2 separate regions of the Homo sapiens genome follow, and region 2 is linked to region 1. The links are contacts of gene promoters, found by promoter capture Hi-C in human tissues and cell types (Jung and others, 2019). All regions are on one chromosome and are shown on one strand. The core of a region is centred on a gene start or on the middle of the fragment in contact, and the rest is flanking DNA. Distances in the headings are between cores, read along the strand shown. Region 1 holds the start of RHBDL3 (rhomboid like 3). Region 2 overlaps PSMD11 (proteasome 26S subunit, non-ATPase 11).

Evidence for each region. The method cuts DNA at HindIII sites, captures the fragments that hold promoters and counts their contacts. A contact is called where the count stands out against the background at its distance.
Region 2: a contact is called between a fragment that was not itself captured here and the fragment with the promoter of RHBDL3 in region 1, in 1 of the 25 tissues and cell types used here (dorsolateral prefrontal cortex).

What each region holds. Positions count from the first base shown.
Region 1 is chr17:32,262,581-32,269,816 of GRCh38, reverse strand. RHBDL3 (rhomboid like 3) reads right to left here and starts at 3,985. Exons shown (of 9, transcript NM_138328.3): 1 at 3,517-3,985; 2 at 1,892-1,915. The coding sequence starts at 3,627. LOC105371731 (a long non-coding RNA gene) reads left to right here and starts at 4,366. Exons shown (of 3, transcript XR_934665.2): 1 at 4,366-4,552; 2 at 4,921-5,071. The HindIII fragment of the contact is 17,639 bases long and covers 751-7,236 here.
Region 2 is chr17:32,471,582-32,478,817 of GRCh38, reverse strand. It overlaps PSMD11 (proteasome 26S subunit, non-ATPase 11), which reads right to left. Exons shown (of 14, transcript NM_002815.4): 7 at 4,873-5,017; 8 at 3,994-4,054; 9 at 1,235-1,297. Among named protein-coding and RNA genes, the nearest start is that of CDK5R1, 12 kb to the left of the region's middle. The HindIII fragment of the contact is 5,751 bases long and covers 64-5,814 here.

The sequences.
Region 1 (7,236 bases), core at 2,736-5,235:
CACACAGGGACTGGCAAAGGAAATTAATCAAATGAAAAAGATAGACACAGACAGAGAAAAAAAAAGAATGATACACTTTGTTCTAGGTTCTGATTCTAAATCTGGCAGGAGGTGTGAAGGGCTGGCAGCTTGGTGGTAGTGGTGGCAGTGGCGCAGCGGGCTCCCTCCTGCCTTGGGGCATCAGGCCAGCAGCTGCTGTACTCTTAGGAGCCAGAGGGAGAGATGCTCTACCCGTCAGGACAGGAGCCAGTGCATGCTTTGAACTTCAAACCACAGCCAGACCTCGTGGTTAATGTGGATGATCACCCCAAATCCTCACCCCAGGCCTTTCGCGCTGCAATTCCGTGTCATCACGCCCACTCCGGCATCTGCAACCGGCTGGCTCCTCTAACTGAACTTGTCTCAAACCAAAGTTGTCATTTTTGCCAAACGTCTCTCCTCACTCCAACTTGTTTTTTGTTTTTGTTTTGAGACAGGGTCCCACTCTGTCACTCAGGTTGGAGTGCAGTAGCACGATCGTGGCTCACTGCAGCCTCAACTTCCTGGGCTCAGGCAATCCTCCTGCCTCAGTCTCTCATGTAGCTGGAACCACAGGAGTGTGCTACCATGCCTGGCTGATTTTTTAATTTTTTGTAGAGATGAGGTCTCACTTTGTTGGCGAGGCTGGTCTTGAACTACTGGGTTCAAGTGATCCTCCCGCCTTAGCCTCCCAAAGTGTTGGGATTACAAGCGTGAGTCACCACACCTGGCCCCACTCCAACTTCTTTCCCTCCTAGGTTCAGAATCTCAAAGTTAGATATGTGGTTCCCCTCACCTACGGTCTATTAAGATCTTCCAATTCTTCCATCACCATGTCCCTCTTCCCGTCCATCCTCACTGTCACCTTCTTGCCTCTGTTCAGTGCTGCAGCTCCTGCCTAGCTTCCCTCATCCCCGTAGCCCATTCACTCCTTATCCCCTAAGACACTGGAGCTTTCCCAAGCCTGGCTTGGATCACATAACAACCCTGCTAAAAAACTTTCTAAGGCTTCCCCTGCCTACAACGAAGTCCTGGTTCAAGCTAATTTTTCAGCTTTATCTCCTTCTCCTACCCAACACATTCCCTCTGGCCCACTCACACCAATTTCTTAAAGTTGCACAAACTTCATGGCACAATCATTCTCACCCCAGGACTATAGCACTCAACTATCCTCCAACATGGGGCAAAGAGGGAGAAGGAAGCACATAACAGCACCCACCACGAATGCTAAGAGGAGAACCATTTCCTTGCTGAAGGTCAAATGTCCATCTCCAGGTTCAAAAGCCAATACTTGGCACCCCCAACTCCATGCCCTACACCTGGACTCCAGGCATTGCGAAGAATCACACACAATTTCCCCTCTGTAACCTCCCAGCACTCCCTCATCCCTATGACAGAATTAAAGACATTGAATTAGACTTCAAAAGAGTCCATACTGTGAGTCAGCCCCCAAGGATGGCAGAGATTTGACTTCAGCGGTGGCCATGGACCCTCCATAGTGGAGGTAGAAACGGAGAGGGATTGTCAGCCCAAGCCCTTCCCCCACCTCTCCAGCCCCCTACTGCAATCCCCTGGCATATGGAGGATTTCCCAGGCATTCAATATATAACGTCCAATTTCTACATGGTGTAAACCCGGCTCTGGTGCAGCAGAGTAGGGAGGAGGCAGGAGGGAGATCCTCTCAGGGGAGCCCATCTCTTCCTCCTGATACCTGGAGAGCAGTGTCGTTCAGCCCTAGAGATGCACAAAGCCACACCCCCACCCCACGTCACCATCTCAGGAGCGCGGAGCTAGGGAAGCCCACGCAAGCAGGGAGACTGAGACCGATTTCAGGGAGGGCTGGAAGGAAATGGGGGGTTAACTGCTCACATACCTGATCAAACAGGACTTTCCAGTGCTGGCAGAGAGGGAGGCCATGCAGGAGAGGAAGAAGAGGAGAGAAAGAAAGACACACTTATCACCAAGGTCTCTGTAGTCCTCGGATGTTTCTGACATAGCCTCCCAGCGGCTGCCCAGGAGTCATGACCAGGCTCAGGGACTGGCCACAGGAGAGCAGGGGAAGTCTGGGAGGAGCTCCCCAATGAGTCCACACTGAGCAGAGGGAGGAAACTCACAGTAAGGGATGGGGTGGGGGCGGGGGCGGCAAGGTGGGTGTTGCTGGTTCTGGAACTGGCAGAACAAGTGATTCTCAACAATTACTAAATAAAGGCGTCCAAATATGTCCAAGCGCCTCTAATAATTTCTGCTGCCTAAAGCTTATGTCCACAGCTACTCCCAGGCCTGGGAGAGCATGGCCAGGTGCAATTCCATCAGACCCCGGCGCAATGAGTCTCACCTGCTGGGAGCTAGAGCCCCCCCCTCCCCCCCCAGGAGAACTCACCTCTGCATAAACACTAACATTTTGCCTGCAGTTTTTTGTTTGTTTGTTCGTTTTTTGTTTTTTTGCGGGGAAGGGGGGGTGGTGAATGCCGAATGCGGTGAAGCCCACCCATTCTCTTCCAAGGCTGAGTCTAAGTGGTGACTACATCAGATTCTGCCAGGGGTTTAGGGCCAGAAGGAAGTGATAGATTTAACCGCAGACGCCAAAGAGAGAAGATCGTAAACTACCCCCCAACCCCATTCAGACTTTCCCGCTTTCGTTGTGTGGGTTGGGGGCCTGGTTTCACTTCCATCTCCCCACCCTGAGGGAGGAGTGGGCAGGGCAGGGTGTCTGCCCGGTTTTTCACCCCTATGTGTAGGTTAGCCCCGGGAGGTTAACCCAAGAAACTCCAGTTCCCAGGGCTTCGCAGGGCCGGCCCGCAGGACCGGAGGGATGGAGACCCGAGCAGCAGACGGCGGGGAAGCCCTCGGGGCAGCCCCTCCCTCTCCTCGCCCAGGGGACCGTCCCCTGGCACCGCCACGGTCTTGGACTCCCGGGCCTCCTTCTAGGAGCAAAGCCGCTCCCAGCACTCTTTGCCTCCCTGCTCCGGCCGGGGTCAGAGGCGGGGGCCGGCTTGAATTTCAATCAGTGTCGCGGCAAGGCAGGTGCCGGGCGGGAGCTAATCCGGGAGCGGAGGAAGGGGTCGCCAGGCCGGCTTGCATGGCCAGGGACGGGGACTCTGCGGCGTCCGCTCCTTCCCCAGCTCCGGGAGCTCGCAGGTCGCGGGCGTGAGGGGAGGGGGAGTCACCGCCGTGACGCGGCCGCCTCTGCGGGAAAACGCCGTGTCCCGGGCACTGCACCAGCGGCGGGGAGGGGGCTCCGGCGGTGACAGGTCCGCGGCGCAGTGGCGGTGCTGTGTCCCGCAGGGAAGCCGCGGGAACCAGAGCGGGGGAAGCGGTGCGCGCGCGTTTCGGGGAGACCGGTCCCTCCGCCCCCTCCTGCCCGCGGGGACCCGGCCAATCCGGGGCGCTCCCGCGTCACCCTGAAACCTCCAAGTTGCCCGGCGTGGGGCGAGACAGGGGCGGCTTTTCCCCCCGGCGCCCCCTAGAAAGTTTGCCGGGCGGGGAGGGGGCACTCACGTCCTCCGGCGCCGCGGGCAGCCGCTCCTCGGCCTCGGGTTCCAGCTCCTCGATGCGCTCCGCCTCGGCGCAGGCGGCCACCGCGGGGCCCGGGCTGGGGTGCTCGCCCATGGCCGAGACGGGGTCCGGGGGCGGCGGCGGCTGCGGGGCTCGTCCCGGGGCGCCGGGCTAACTTTGCGCCGCGGCGGCCGCGCCGCTCCAGGGGCTCAGTGCGCGCCGCGCCGCCTCCGCGCCCGCTCCGCAGCCCGCGCCCGCCCCCATGGCCCCGGTCCCCGCGCCGCCGCCGCCTCCTCGCGACCCCGGGACGCCCGGCCCCTCCGCCGCCAAACTTCACTGCGCTAGCTGCCCCGCCGGCCTCCGCCTCCGCCCCGGCCCTCGCGCCCGGCTCCGAGGCGAGGGCGCCCTTGGGCCGGCCCCGGCCCCGCCGCTCCCCGCGCTCCCTTCCCGCTTCTCGCGGCCCCCGCTCTGCGCCCGAGTCTCCTCCTCCCCGCGGAGTCCTCGGGGGCGGCGCGCGGGCGGGGGCGGGGCTGCTCGCGGGGAACGCCGGCCCCCGCCCCGCACCCCACCCCGGGCGCCGCCACCCGGGCCCAGTCGGTCAGAGCGGCGCGGCCCGGGAGCGGGAGGGCTGCGGCGGGGCTGGCGAGGAAGTGGTGGCGCTGCCCGGGGCGGGGATGGGGACTGCGCCGTCCCCGGCCCGGTCACCACCGGCCTGCACTCCGGGCCCGGGCTTGGCTCTTCCATCGGCTTAACCATCACTTGGAGGTGGCAGATATGTGATGGAGACACTATGTTGGCGACGTCAGGGTTAACTAGGAGTGAATTGGGGGCGCGATGTTGTAAGGACGGGATTCCTGCCTCCCGCCCCATTATCCTTACGCCCTATTCACTGCGGTCTCAGATTCTGGGAGGTCTCGGGAGGCCCAGAAATGGGAGAAGTCAGATTGCGGGGTCGTGGGCCCCAAAGCCTAAATCTTGCCCTTCCTACACCCAGAGCTAAGTGACCATGCCCAGGCTTCATTTGACCACATGGACAAAGGTAAGCCCAGGGAAATGCCCCATCTGGGGAGAGGGACGGTAAAGAAACTAAAGCAATCAGAAAGGAAGTTAGCCAAAACGGAGTAGGGGATCTTTTAAAGAAAACAATCGATGCTGTTTCCCTGCAGGAAAGCGCCCCCAAGAGAGACCATCTCCCGAAGCAGAGGCTCTGGCTGTAAATGGTGCTAGTGGCCGGCCTGGCAGGGGCCAGCTCTCCCCAGAGGCTCAGGAGCTTCTCCAGGAGGCATCTCGCAGTCAGTCCCCAGCCCACACCAAGGCTGTGCCCTTCCACTCCTCTTGCTTTCCTCTTCCCACCACCCACTCACTCACTAGTCTTTGCCCTCTTCCTTCCTCTGGGAAACGGAACAGGCTCCTTTCCATTAGTGAGAGCTGCAACTAATGCAGTCATCTTCAGAAAGCAAAGACATAACCCCGTGCCCAGGATCCGAACTGCGACCATCACCCAGCAATGACTGCTCCCCTTAAACACCGAGAAGGGAATTCACTTGATTCTAATTAGGTGAGTTTGCTACAGACACCAATTTTCATCTCTGTTTCAGAAAGTGTGATCATTTCAACTATTTTTGTTTCTCACCACCCTCCTCCCCATCCCTACTCTACTAACAAGTCAAGATCCTGCCAAGATTTCCTTGTAAATAAAACTGTCTGCATGGGGTGTGATTTTGAAAACAGCCTTCAGGGGACAGAAGAGAGGCTGATTCCTTTGTGAAGAGGAGCCCAGAAGGACAAATGACCGCTGGGGCCCTGGGGTCTGTGTCGCTGCCTCCCGCATCCCAGGCTGTCATTTGCATGACCGGTATGGGTGTTGGCTCTGTTATACTTAGATCTCTGGGACTAGAGAAGTGGGCCAGGAAGTCTGGTTCCAGGGGAACTGGAAGGAGAAGGGCACAGAAAAGGGTTGGCCACTCTGCTGGGATGCCCAGCCACCCTGGACAGTGTTCTGATACCAGCTACCCAGGGAGCTGCCTCTTCATCAGCCCAGGGACAGCTCTTATCAACATATCCAACTCTGTCATCCCTTCGTGGGGAAGGGAGCTTAGCAGGCTCAGTTCTGTTCCTGAACATGTATTAAGCTCCTACTAAGTACCAATGACAGAGCTTTGAGAATACAGAGGTGGATAAGAACCAGACCCTGCCCTCCAGAAATGGATAATTGGGGGTGACAGTCACATTCAACACAAGGGTAAGTCCTGGATTCAAGGGAAGCCCAGAAGGTGTAGAACTCCAAAGGAGGGGGTCGCTGTGGGTCCAGGAAGGCTTCCCAAAGGATAAGCCTCCAGAACTAGGCAACATGGAAAAGGTGAAGGAGGTGTTCCAGGTAGAGGGAACAGCACGACCAGGCTTGTGGAGCAGCATCATATGGGAGGCAAACGACAAGCAGTTTGGCATGGCTGGAAACTGGAGCACGATGACCAATCTAAAGAGCCCAGCCTGGACGGGAAGGTTGTGAGGGGCTGTGAGTTTCATGGGAAAAGAGCTTGGACTTTACCTAAGGGCAATAGGGAGCCATTGAAGGATTGTGAGCAGTAGAGTAATATTTAAAAGATCCCTGGCCAGGCGCGGTGGCTCACGGCTGTAATCCCAGCACTTTGGGAGACCAAGGCGGGCGGATCACGAGGTCAGGAGATCGAGACCGTCCTGGCTAACACGTTGAAACCCTGTCTCTACTAAAAAAATACAAAAAATTAGCCGGGCGTGGTGGTGGGCGCCTGTAATCCCAGCTACTCGGGAGGCTAAGGCAGGAGAATCACTTGACCACAGGAAGCGGAGCTTGCAGTGAGCCGAGATCTGCCACTGCACTCCAGCCTGGGCGACAGAGTGAGACTCCGTCTCAAAACAAACAAAAAAGATCCCTTTGGCTGTAGTGTAGAGTCTAGACAGGAGGGAGGTTGGCCTGAGCAGAGGGCCATGAGAGGTGCTGTCCAAGGAAGAGGTCACAAGGGCGGCAGCAGTTAGAATAAAAGGGAGAGGGAAGATGGGAAACATCCAGAAGGCTATCTTGTTCCTCCTTCTGTCCCTAGGAACATTTACCCCGCCTTGGCAGGCTATGTTTCCAAAAGTCTCCTAAGAAGGAATTCCTGATCTCTCACCAGGATTCTTGCTTCACGGGGCAGCTTCTCTCACCTTGGCCCTTGCTGGGAGGTGATGGTGTCTGGACTTGGAGACTGTTAGGACAAGTTGTTACATCCATCATCCTCCATGAGCCTGAGGCCACCCTTTACCTGTTGTCCTCAATGTCACCTACGCCCAGCTGGTCAGACCACTCTGCCCCTCAGCTCCAGGCGAATCTGCAACCCACTCCCGAGCAGGCAGTAGGACATGGGGCCTGGGGTCCAGGCCTAGAAAGCTCCAGGGGATAGGAGTGGCTAGGCACCCTGACACCTTTTGTTCTACTCTCACCTGAGACAGCCTAAGGACTGGCATATTCTGTGGCATTTTGGGGGCAGAGGAGGGAGTAGGCATGGTGTCACTTTCACTGACCAGCTGCAGCAGGCAGGCACTCGTCGATGCCTGGAGGTGTGCCATGCAGAGGCCCCTCCCTGGGAGAACCTTTGGCGCTAATGAGAAGTGACACGGAACTGGGCCTATTGGCACTTCTTCCTTGCTCTTCATTTTGCAAGTGCGCTACACCATGGCCTCTTTTAAGGTTCCTAACAAGACACT
Region 2 (7,236 bases), core at 1,690-4,189, 210 kb before region 1:
CCCCAAGAGCAACTCAGCTCATGAACCAAATTAGCTACACAAGCATTTCTCAGCATGTATTCTACAGAATAAATAGGGTCTCCATGGGGGGGAAAAAAAGAACATTGAGGTTAAAGAATAGGAAATGCTGAATTCCACAACTAGCTCTTGGGAGTTTTATGAGGACCATCAGCATAACATGGCTCTGCAATGATTAAGCAAAATTAGGTGTTTTAATTATTATTAGCCCTAGTATTTTGTTTAGCCCTAGTATTTCCCAAATATCTAATCACAGAATCCTTCTTCCAAGGAACTATTTGGAATAAAAGTGTCCCATCAAACATCTCAGACATTGGGATAAAATGATCTAGACCAAGTATTCATGTGTGTGATTTACTGGACCATCAGTAATGGTCTCAACATCCCAGCCTCATGTCAGCTGTGCTACAAGGTGTTAAGGGAAGCAGGCGAATCATGCCAAGTAAGACGCAATAGGAATTGGCAAGAGCCCTCCAGGAAGATGGTGAATCTCAGGGACAGTCAAAGCCACATGGTCTAGTCTCCATCCACACTAAGTTTTTCTCTCTGGATCTAGGTTTTGTTTTTATTAAGTTGATCATTATACTCAGACTAAAAGGAGAGAGGTTCAGGAAAGACTATATAATTCTCACCCTAATGCCCAGACAGGCTTTTCTCCCTTTTCAAAACTCCCAAACAATGAGCAAAATGCACCAGGGTTAAAGAAAGCCTAGATCATCACCCTGAGGACGTTTCTTTGGGTCCAAGTACGCACATCAAGACTTCCCTTCTGTCCACAGAGGAGCAGACCTGGCATTTCTGGAGCTGAAGGAATGCCTACAACTGTGTCATGTGGAACAAGCACTAGGCCTAGAGTCAAACTCTGACCCTATGCTGTGTGACTTTGAGTGTCCTCCTGAATCCCAGTTCCCTTAACCATAAAATGCAGATAATAAATAGGTGTGTTGTGAAAAATCAAAGTGAAAAAAGGACAGAAAGAACTTTTGAAATAGAAAGGTATTATGTATAAATAATATATATTTTATATCAACTCAGTAAGTTTCATTGTACAAAGTGCTTAACTATTTCCTGGTTTTAATACTGTCCTAGGTGAAGGATACATGGAATCATTTGCAACTTCTTTTGAAACTATAATTATTTTTAAAAGTGTGTTTTGAAGTACTTAAACGTCCCTCTCTTCCACTCACATTCCATACCAACCCAATATCATACTCACCTTTTCAAAATCTGCCAGTGATCTGTTCTTGCTAGCCTGAGCCACGCATTTTAATGCTTCTGTCTGAGAATAAAGAGACAAACCATGAAAGCGATTTATTCTGCACACTAACATTTACCCAAGTCTCATAAGCAGTATGCTGTGTCCACACAACTTCTGCCAAAAGGAAGAACCCGCCCCACCATCGTTCTTCTTCAGACGCCCGGGAAGAAGAGCCGCAAGTACTGAATACCACTATATGCCAACCTGTTTCCCTTTGAAACCTGAAATGACTTAATAATACTAGGAAACAGAAATTTTCCAAACAGACCGACCCTAATATAGCATTCTCTAGAGATGACAAGCTAAAAGGAAAAATGACAAGAGAACTGTGATTTCTTCTCCCTTCCTCCAAGGCTTGTTATCGCCACATCCACCCAAACTCCTTCTTGCCCTTAGACCCTATTATATCTGTGCTTTATCAAGATTCATTCTGCTAGGTTTGGAACAAGGCACTGAACAAGGTCTACCTCATTAACACTGAGGCATCAAGGCCAGGCACAGTGGCTCACACCTGTAATCCCACCACTTTGGGAGGCCGAGGTGGGCAGATCACTTGAGGTTCAGGAGTTCGAGACCAGCCTGGCCAACATGGTGAAACTCCCTTCTCTACTTAGCCGGGCATAGTGGTGGACGCCTGTAATCCCAGCTACTTGGGAGGCTGAGGCAGGAGAATTGCTAGAACCCAGGAGGCAGAGGTTGCAGTGAGCCAAGATCATGCCACTGCACTGCAGCTGGGTGATAGAAAAAGAATCCGTCTCAAAAAAAGGTTGCGGCATTAACATATTACACCAAATGTTAAGACCCCACAGAGTGATGAAGGTATAATCAATAGTTGAGAACAACTTCTAACATGGTTAAAAAAGGCACCTGACCAAGCTATTAAGTCTCCACTCAGCAAAAAATCTGCAACACTCATCTTTCTGGGAGATTAGCCTATCTCCTGCTTAAAAGCTAACATCAAAGGCGCAAGGGACTAAGAGAAGCTGCTCTTTTATCAGCCTACATGCTTATATAAGAACAGTGTGTCTTATACAGTAGACTACATGGTGCAAGGCTAATCATTAGTGTGTTTGTCTCCAGCATTTGTCCTATAGACAGAAAAAAGTGTCAAAATGAGAAAAGCCTGGAACTTAGAGCCAATGACCCTAATTCAAAGTCTAGCTCCACCATTGATTAGCTACCTGACCTTGCCCTGAACACTTGGATGTCCCTGAGCCTGTCTCCTCAACTCTAGTTATAGTGAGAGTAGTGCATCTTTCTTATTTATTATTTTTTAAGACAGAGTCTCACTCTGTCGCCCAGGTTAGAGTACAGTGGTGCTATCTTGGCTTACTGCAACTTCCACTCCCCGTTTGAAGTGATTCTCCTGCCTCAGCCTCCTGAGTAGCTGGGATTACAGCCACCAATGCACTACCATGCCCGGCTAATTTTTGTATTTTTAATAGAGCTGGGATTTTGCCACATTGGCCAGGCTGCTCTCAAACTGCTGACCTCAAGTGATCCGCCCACCTCAGCCGCCCAAAGTGCTGGGATTACAGGCATGAGCCACCACGTCCAGCCCCTAATTGGCTTTTTATCAGCAAAAGTTTCAGGTCAGCTCCTGGTTTTGACCTCAAGAGTACCGGTTATTACTATACTGGAAGATGCGTGGCTGGATGCAGTGGCTCACACCTACAATCCCAGCACTTTTGGAGGTTGAGGTGGGCGGATCACTTGAGGTTAGGAGTTTGGGACAGCCTGGCCAAGATGGCAAAACCCTGTCTCTACTACAAAAAATTAGCCGGGCATAGTGGCGGATGCCTGTAATCCCAGCTACTCGGGAGGCTGAGACAGGAGAATCACTTCAAACTGGGAGGAGGAGGATGCAGTGAGCCGAGATACGCCACTGCACTCCAGCCTGAATGAAAGAATGAGACTCCAACTCAAAAAAAAAAAAAAAGCCAATTAGGGCCACTTGTAGAGAGGGAAGAAATCATCTATGTGGCCACTCCTCCAGAGATACAGTGAGATTATATAGACAGCCAATCAGTCTGTGTTTAGAGACCACTGCAGTTGAAATCCAGAAAGATTACACTTACTTTACTAGTGATAATCAAGCAAAATACAAAGAGGAGACAGTCTAGACGTCATCTTTGCGTAGGTCCTAACTGTCTGCTCTCAGAAGTCACACTCATACCTACTTGGGCATTAAGGTAACAAAAAAAAAAAAAGGGCCTCTTTTTGCACCACACCCAAAATTCAAAGCACGAGTAGAAAGGTACTGATCTGAGAAGCACAGAAGTAAATCTCAAAACCTAGTTTCTGCACCAAGCAATCAGACCTCTCTAAAGCACATATGCACCAGACCTTACCAGGCTCCTAACCTGGAGAATCTAAGATTTCATACCCTGCCTATGTTAAATTCACAACTCAGACTCGTGGTAGATAAATCTTCTGGTCAAAGCCAAATGCAAACTAACTCACTGCAAATGCTACAGTTCAGTTCCCTAAGTCCCTCAAACAACGTGATGTCCATAAGAGCACCAAACGCTGACTTTCCAGGCCAAGAATTTAACAGTCTGGGAAACACACTGAATGGGCTTAAGGGAAGGAAGTGAGTGGGGCAGAAGGAAGAGAGTAGTATGAAGATCTGAAGAGTGCTGGTCTCATCAAACGTTGTGACTCTGAAAACATGCTGGTCTCAGAGTGAGCAGAACTGCAGTCAAGGGAGTCCCTACCTGCCTCCCTGCATACCGAAGTGCAAGCTTCCCGCTCACCAAAGCCTGGACATCTTCTGGGCTAGAAAAAAAGACATACTTGGTCAATTGCTGCAGATGTTATGCTTCTAAAGGAAGGTTTGGGCAAATTTCTTTTTAACAGAATTCCATTGTAATAAAGACTCTGCCCACACAGACAATCAGCCCAACCCCTAAACCCATATGCCCATCACATTGCAAAAGCTAGGTTTTCTCCACTCTGGGTCACAGCTCAGCCTGAAGAGTAGAAAAACTCCAATGTTAGAAAGCTGAACTGAACCTACCAAAAGCAATAGACACAACAAGCAGAACTATAAGTTTAAGTCAAATCCCAGTGTAACAGGTATTATTAAAACATAGCCCTTATGTAATCCAAAGATCCAGAGAGAGTTCTTAGTCAATATTTCATTTATTCCCAAAAGAATTGAATAATTCTGTAGACTTCTTTATAAGTAGGTCTGTCATACTTTTGTTGTCCACTTTTTCAAACCTCTCCTTAACCCTTCCTTCCTCATTCTGGGTGGCTCAGTTGGCTGTTACTGGCTGATCTGTAAGCTATTTCCTGACCCTCTGTCCTGTGCTCTGCACCTATGAGGACAGAATATTTAAAGGATGAGGAGAATTCTCCAAGAGGAGCTGGGAAGGGGATTTCTAAAATGTCTGCCTGATTCTGAAAGACTAGCAAGCGAAAGTTTTCTGGACCACTTTTGATCCTCCCGCTCTACCTTAGCCAGCCCTAGAGGCCGCAGCTGCTGCTGTTTCTGTAACTGGCCAAACTCCCTGCTCAGGCCATCTCTGCCATGGCAAACAGACTTGCTGAAGGATCTGAGTTCTTGTAGTCCAGAGTTAAGGTGCACCTACGTGTTGAGCATGATTTTGCACAGCAACATGTACTTCAGAGATGTGATGGCCTTGGGGCTGTCGATGGAGTCATAACCCTCAAATGCCTCATAGAAGTATGAGTACGCAGTTTTCCAGTCCTTCTCTTCTGCTGCATGGATAATACCTGGGCATTGAAAAGAAAGGAATAAGAACATATAAAATAATAGAGCCATAAAAGATCAGAGCTGGGAGGCAGCTTAGACATCTACCTAAATGGGCACGGTGGCTCACACCTGTAAATCCACACTTTGGGAGGCTGAGATGGGAGGATCATGTGAGCCCAGGAGTTCGAGACAAGCCTGAGTAACATAGTAAGACCCCATCTCTTGAAAAAAAAAAAAATGCTGGGCACGGTTTCAGCTCACGCCTATAATCCCAGCACTTTGGGAGGCTGAGGCAGGCGGATCACCTGAGGTCAGGAGCTCAAGATCAGACTGACCAACATGGACAAATCCCATCTCTACTAAAATTACAAAAAAAATTAGCTGGGTGTGGTAGCGCATGCCTGTAATCCCTGCTACTCGGGAGGCTGAGGAAGGAGAATCACTTCAACCCAGGAAGCGGAGGTTGCGGTGAGCCGAGATTGCGCCACTGCACTCCAGCCTGGGCAACAAGGGCAAACTTCCGTCTCAAAAAAAAAAAGCCAGGTGCAGGGGTTCACTCCTGTAATCTCGGCACTTTTGAGAGGCTGAGGCAGGAGGATAGCTTGAGCCCAAGAGTTTGAGCCTAAGTAACAGAGTTAGATGTTGTCTCTTTATTTTTTTTTTTGAGCCGAGTCTCACTCTGTCACTGAGGCTGGAGTGCAATGGCGCAATCTCAGCTCACGGCAACCTCCGCCTCGTGGGTTCAAGCAATTCTCCTGCCTCAGCCTCCCAAGTAGCTGGGATTACAGGCACCCACTACCACGCCCGGCTAATTTTTTGTATTTTTAGTAGAGACTGGTTTCACCGTATGTTCGCCAGGCTAGTCTTGAACTCCTGACCTCAAGTGATCCACCCGCCTCGGCTTCCCAAAGTGCTGGGATTACAGGTGTGAGCCACCACACCCAGCCGACCTTGTCTCTTAAAAAAAAAAAAAAAAAAGAAAAAGGCCGGGCATGGTGGCTCATGCCTGTAATCCCAGCACTTTGGGAGGCAGAAGCAGGAGGGTCATCTGAGGTCAGGATTTCAAGACCAGCCTGGCCAACATGGTAAAAACCTGTCTCTACTAAAAATACTAAACCAGCCAGGCATGGTGGCGGGCACCTGTAATCCCAGCTACTTGGGAGGCTGAGGCAGGAGAATCTCTTGAACCCAGGAGGTGGAGGTTGCAGTGAGCTGAGATCACGCCACAGCACTCCAACTTGGGCGACAGAGTGAGACTCCGTCTTAAAAAAAAAAAAAAGAGGTCAGGCACAGTGGCTCACGTCTGTAAACTCTAACGTCTATAATCCCAGCACTTTGGGAGGCCAAGGCAGCCAGATCACTTGAGGGTCAGGAGATCGAGATCAGCTTGGCCAACAAGGCAAAACGCCATCTCTACTAAAAATACAAAAATTAGCCGGCCTTGGTGGTACATGCCTGTAATCCCAGCTACTCAGGTGGCTGAGGCAGGAGAATCACTTGAATCCAGGAGGTAGAGGTTGCAGTGAGCCGAGGTCACGTCACTGCACTCCAGCCTGGGCAACAGAGCAAGACACTGTCTCAAAAAAAAAAAAAAACTCTACGTCAACTCCACCAACCTACTGATGAGGTCAGGAAAGGATAAAGAACCTGCTCTGCCAGGCACAGTGGCTCACATCTGTAATCTCAACACTTTGGGAGGCCAAGGCAGGTGGATCACCTGAACCTAGGAGCTCAAGACCAGCCTAGGCAACAGGGTGAAACCCCATCTCTACAAAAAATTAGCCAGGCGTGGTGGCACATGCCTGTAGCCCCAGCTACTTACTCATGAGACTGAGGTAGGAGGATCACGTGAGCCTGGGAGGCTGATGATAGCGATGGGAGCTGTGATAGCAAAAATGCACTGCAGCATGGGTGAAAAAGTGAGACCGTCTAAAAAAAAAAAAACCTGCCCAAAGTCACCATAGTCAGCAATTTGACAGCTGAGATTAGAAGATGAGAATCCAAGTCTCTGACCTCCCAGCTCAATGTCATATTGCCAATATAAGTTCCCAAAGGAGTTAGAGACTCAACTTAAAAGGGACCTGAAAAACACATACTGTACCATCTTTCTTCCATGCTTCTCACCACCATTCCAGTCCTGCTATCTTTTGGAGCCACAGGAAAAGGCCATGTTTACCCTCCATGACATCACATTCACAGGTCAGGGAGTTGACCTAAACATCTCTAGACTGCCTGAATG